Regions from separate parts of the Homo sapiens genome. Here region 2 is linked to region 1. Evidence: promoter capture Hi-C in human tissues and cell types (Jung and others, 2019). All regions are on one chromosome and are shown on one strand. The core of a region is centred on a gene start or on the middle of the fragment in contact, and the rest is flanking DNA. Distances in the headings are between cores, read along the strand shown. Region 1 holds the start of CDHR1 (cadherin related family member 1). Region 2 overlaps LOC105378399 (a long non-coding RNA gene).

Region 1 (2,919 bases), core at 415-2,914:
AGCCTGGTAATAACTCCTCTCTCAGGATCCAAGATTGAGGGGCTCCTGGGTACAGGGAAGGGGAAATGGGAGCAGCCATTAAGGCAGGAGGGGTGACCCACAGTGCACCACTGTCCCCGATGCCTGGACCTGGTTCTGCAGGGATTTCTGAGCCAGGTGCCTACTTTGCTCTGCTCTCCCTTTTCCCCGGGTTCCCACTACCCACAAAGTGAGGGAGAAGGAGTGTGAAATCTCCCCTTTCTCCTCCCCTCTCTCTGCATATCTCAGCAAGTTGGATGTTCTTAGGCCGTTTTAAAGCCTAGAGACCTGGGGCTCAGGGAGGTAAATACATTTGTTCAAGGTCACACAGCCATAAGGGGCAGCTGTAGCTGCCTGCCTCGCGGGGCGACCCTGTCTGTGGGGGGGAGCCCTGGTCTCCAGGACTGGCCAGACTTAAGTCGCCATGGCAGCAATGACCTTCTTTCCTGCCATTGCCCAGGGGAATTCGGAGAGCAAACAAGGAGCCCCCGGGCGCGCGCAGCAACTTGGGTGGTGCCTGGGGCACTTTGTGTTCTAAGTCTGCCTGCACCCCTCAGGGAGACCTATCGGGAGCAGGTGCCAGGGCTACTCACCTACAGGGGTGTCCTCTGGGAGGCTGAACAGAGCCATGTTTCCGTTGGTGCTGCCGACCCCGTTGTCGAAGAAGTGCGGGGCGAAGTTGGCCTGAGCTGGAAAAAGAACACAGAACAGACGGACACCCAGGCAAAGGACACCCAGACACCAGGAGGGAGCTTCGCACCAGCGCGGTCCCGCGTCAGGCCCAGCTACTGGGCAGGAGGGCGCTCCGCCTCCCCAACCCAAGTGCACCGAGGGACCCCACTGGGGCGCCGCCCAGAGGATGCCCCTGACCCCCACTCCGCCCCCGGTGGGCTCGGGCTTGTCAGGGACACGTAGCATGTGGGCGCTTAGAACCCAGGTAGCAATCCAACCCCTCCTTCATCAATGGGCAGATTGCACCCGCGCTCGGAGAGGGGCAGTGCCCCAGCCCAGCCAAGGTCAAGCCGCGAGTCAGGGCACTATCTCCTGCCCCACGCAGCATCGGAGCTGCCACCAAGCCTACAGCTCTGGTTCCCAGCAAGCGGAGAGCAGCGGGGGTCCGGGCGCCAAACCCTGGGGCCCTAGGATGCCAGCTCTGGAGAAGCGCCCCGGAGCTCCCCACTACTCCGCTACCCCACTCCCCACTACCGAATGGGCCAGGAAGATGGAAGGACTTCTCCGCTCCCGTCCACCAGCCCGAGTCCCACTCTGGAAGTGGTCCAGGACCATGTCCCTCTGGCCACCTGGGTGACGCCAGCGCCCATCTCCCTCGCCATCCACGCGGCCAGCGCGGCCCAGCGGCCACTCACCCAAGCAGAGGCGCAGCAGCCCCAGGGCCAGGGCGGCCCACCGGCAGCGCCTCATGTCTCCGCCGGCGCGGAGTGTCGCCTGCCGCCGCCGAGACCGGGCGCAGGGGCACGGAGCATGCCCTGGGCCCGCGGGGAGGGCAGAGACCACAATGGGGGTAGCGGCGACTGCAGCCGCGGCGGGAGGGGGCACGGGGCGGGAGCGGCGGGTGGCGTGAGGGCGCTAAGAGGATGACACGGCTCGGATCTGCTCCTGCCGGCCGCCTGACGAGACCAATTAGCGGCGCAGAGCGGAGCGACAGGCTCCCAGCCGCGGGCGGGGGCAGGAGGGCGTGACAAGAGGACTCCCCGCCCGCCACGCCCCCTTTGCCGGCGGCCCCCAGTCCTGGACAGGAGGACACCATGGGGGACAGGAGTGTCTTTCCCCCAAGTTGTCCTGAGGCTTTCCCAGGGTACTTAAGTCCTGGTGGGGCTTGGGCTTCGCAGTTTTCTTTTCTCATCAACTTCCTCTGTGACTTTCAGGGGCTTAGCTGTCTTCTCTGAGCTAAGCATTCCAGAAGAAAAGTTAGTGGAGCGGCCGAGAGGGCCTTGCCTTAGCAGTCTAAGCAGGTTCTATAAGCCGCGTGAGACCAAAGGCAAAGAGAAAGGGTGATGGATGGGCAGCAGATGGTAAGGGGTTATCAGGACCCCCTCTCTGTGATCTCAACCCATTCCTGCCCTGTTCCCCAGGCTGGACCACCTCTCCCAAAGGGTCTGATCTGTGTGGTGGGCAGCAGGGAGGACCCTCAGGTGTCCACCAGGGTGAGAGGCAGTTCTGCTCCCCATTCCCAGTCAGTGCCCAGTCTGGGACCATGAAGGGGCAGCTGACCCACTCTTCAAACCTTCCAAGGAAGAGTGAAGGGCCTGAAGGCAGAGTTAAGCCCCATCTTAGGACAGACTTGCACAGAGCTGGCCAAGATAGATCTGAACTGCCCGAGAGGCACGAGATCTCATTCCTAGAGGGTATTTACACAAAGCAAGGCACTGCTATTGGGGTCCTGGATGCTGATAACTTGAAGACACAGGTAAGCCCAGGAACCTTTTTGGCTGCTGGTAAAGCTCCTTGGGCTTCCTCGTTCTCCTGCTCTGACACTGGAGGGTGCTTGGAAATGCAGCCTGTTTTCCTTTTCCTGGTTGGGCCATTTATGGGGGTACAGGTCACTTCAAGCCCAAGCCAGGCCACTTCCCAGGATGCCCTTGGGTGGATGTGTTCTCAGATAGAGGAGATCCCTCCTCTGTGTGCTCCTGGGAGAGGTCTCCACAGCTGAGGACTCAGCATTCCCCCCCTCCCCCTGCCAGGGGCCTTTGAGGGAACAGAGCACCCCCCATCCCTTGGTCTAGCCCTACATGATCTACTGTGAGCAAGGGTCAGGGATTTGCAGAGAAGAAGGAAGATGAATCAATGGTTTTAGAATGTGCAGCAGTTTTCAGGCCTAATTGGCCGAAACCCTTGTTGAGTCTCCTTAGGCTTGGCTCTTTTGCTGAAAAGACACACTTT
Region 2 (2,778 bases), core at 105-2,604, 200 kb after region 1:
AGTTCTGCACATTTTAACACTTTCGATCATGCATTATGTAGTCTTGTTCTCTCATCAATTCATTTGAGTTATCCTTGTCTTCCTGGATGGATTGTACCTCTGTGGAGGTTTCACTGAGTAGACATTCTCAAAGGTCAGGAACAGTCAAGGTTCCACTTAAAAGAAAAAAAAAATGTTTCTCTAATTCTTACTAAGATCTTGTGTGTATTGAAGCTGCTCTAAGTGCTATGCAGCTATTATTGTAGCCCCGTATAGTAGGTGCTATTATCATCCCTGTTTTACAGATGAACTCACTTAGATTGAGTCAAGAACCCACTGAAGACAATCATCAGAGCTGAGAAAATTAACTAAGAAAAAGATGCACGTGGCTGTAATTAGAAGAAAAACAGTTTGCCTGCTCTCATTTGGCTGAGCATTTTAAAAAACCTTTTCAATAAGTAAGTATTGAATGTTAACATGAGAACCTCTGCGTAGGTTGGCGATCATTTCTTCTATATAGGTTATGCTGAAGTTAATGGTCTAGTAACCATTTGATGGCTGGACCTTGCCATTCTCAATAGATCACTTTGCACAAGACCCCAGCAGGTGGTGCTATAACTGGCAAGCGGCTTCAGGCATGCCCCATTGCTCTCAGAGTGAATTTTCCCACGTCCTTGGGAGCCTGGGGTGGTGGGGTGGGGGTGGGGTGTTCCTTGCAGAGAAGGCTCTTACTCCTGTCTGTGTAAGTGCATGTTACCTACACAGGCCCTCCTCTGGCCCATCTCTGTGCTGCTGTGTTTGAATTGCTTCCCATTCATCCCACGGGGGAACAATCCTAGGGTTATAGGGATAGTCAAACACATGACAAACAGCCCAGCACTGGACAGATGAGGTTGAGACTAGTTTATTTATCACACACACTCATGGCCTGGGGAGAAAGACACTGTGCCACACAGGGCCACAACGGAGTTGAACTTGGGAACAGAGGCTGTGGGAGGCAGGCTCTGTGGTATCAAGAGGATAGGGGGACTCCTGCTTCCCACAGGGGAAGTGGTTAGTTTGTCTGAAATGTTTTATGGGCTGGGAGGGAACTAAGACTACCCACGCAGGGATAAGGAGGAGCTGCACCTGGTCCATTTGGTGATAAGGGTCTTTTGGCAAGGGATTCTTTTTTTTTGTTGTTTGTTTTTTGTTTTTTTGTTTTCTGAGATGGAATCTTGCTCTGTTGCCCAGGCTGGAGTACAGTGGTGTGATCTTGACTCACTGCAAACTCCGCCTCACAGGTTCAAGTGATTCTCCTGCCTCAGCCCCCTGAGTAGCTGGGATTATAGGTGCACACCACCACGCTTGGCTAATTTTTGTATTTTTAGTAGGAGACGGGGTTTTGCCATGTTGGCCAGGCTGGTCTCGAACTCCTGACCTCGTGATTGCCTGTCTCGGCCTCCCAAAGTGCTGGGATTACAGGCGTAAGCCACTGTGCCCGGCCAAGGGATTCTTATCCATGGTGTGAAGGAAGAGGAGAACTTGTGGTTAGGACATTCCAGGCCCTCCCAGTTTTGCCATGTATCAAGGCAGCAATTAATATTGAATCTTATTGTTAGGCCTTAAACCCCATGCTGTTGTGTGGCCCCACATGAACGTTCTTGCTTTATGTCTATATTTTTGCTCTAATTTTTTTTTTTTTGGTAGAGATGGGGACTTGCTATGTTGCTCAGGCTGGCCTTGAATTCATGGCATCAAGGGATCCTCCTGCTTTGGCCACCTAAAGTGCTGGGATTTTTAGGTGTGAGCCACCATGCCTGGCCTAAATTTTTTTTTTTTTTGAGTTGGGGTCTTCCTGTGTTTCCCAGACTGGTCTCAAACTCATGGGCTCAAGCAATCCTCGTACTTCAGTCCCCCAAGTAGCTGAGATAACAGGTGTAGGCCACTATGTGTGGCTATTATTATTATTATTATTATTTTTTTTTTTTGAGACGGAGTCTTGCTCTGTCACCCAGGCTGGAGTGCAATGGCGTGATCTCGGCTCACTGCAACCTCTGCTTCCTGGGTCCAGGCGATTCTCCTGCCTCAGCCTCCCGAGTAGCTGGGATTACAGGCACCTGCGTCATGCCCGGGTAATTTTTGTATTTCTGTAGAGAGGGGGTTTCACCATGTTGGCCAGGCTGGTCTTGAACTCCTGACCTCAGGTGATCTGCCTGCCTTGGCCTCCCAAAGTGTTGGGATTACAGGCATGAGCCACCACGTTGGGCCTATTTTTATTATTTTTTTAAGGGATAGGGTTTGCCGTGTTGCTCAGGCTGGCATGCAGTGGCTATTCACAGGCACGATTACAGCACGCTATAGCCTCAGACTCCTGGGCTCAAGCCATCCTTCTGCTTCAGCCCTCTGAGCTCTTCAGCTAAGAACATAGATTTCTGGCTCTTCCGATTCTTGCCTGAGACTTACTTTAGAATAGTTTTTCGGTTTCTTTCAAATTGAAAGAAGAGATCACTGGCACTTGGGAGGGGAAAAACTGGAGGATGTGTTCATTATTCAGTCCTCAAACCTCCCCAGGATTCATGTTGTATTTCTGAAACTAGACCACTAGGAAGCTCCAGACCTGCTTTGATCAGATGACCCTGAATAGTTAGGGTTCTTTCAGTTCCATGGAAAAGGAATCGACAAGATCTTCTTTAAGCATAAAAGGGGAGATTTGTTAAAAGCACACAGATTGGTCTAGGAGGGCACAGGACAGAGAGACGGCCAGCCCTCAGGAATGAATGGGAACTAGAAGCAGAGTTGCCCACAGTGTTTGCAGAC

Evidence for each region. Contacts are between HindIII fragments. The study calls those that stand out against the background at their distance.
Region 2: a fragment that was not itself captured here is called in contact with the fragment with the promoter of CDHR1 in region 1 in 1 of the 25 tissues and cell types used here (lymphoblastoid cells).

The regions. Positions count from the first base shown.
Region 1 is chr10:84,193,282-84,196,200 of GRCh38, reverse strand. It overlaps CDHR1 (cadherin related family member 1), which reads right to left and starts at 1,664. Exons shown (of 17, transcript NM_033100.4): 1 at 1,386-1,664; 2 at 612-707. The coding sequence starts at 1,440. RefSeq lists silencers at 1,449-1,568, 1,639-1,768. The HindIII fragment of the contact is 10,516 bases long and covers 1-2,919 here.
Region 2 is chr10:83,990,404-83,993,181 of GRCh38, reverse strand. It overlaps LOC105378399 (a long non-coding RNA gene), which reads left to right. Exons shown (of 4, transcript XR_946148.2): 2 at 285-437. Among named protein-coding and RNA genes, the nearest start is that of GHITM, 150 kb to the left of the region's middle. The HindIII fragment of the contact is 6,900 bases long and covers 1-2,778 here.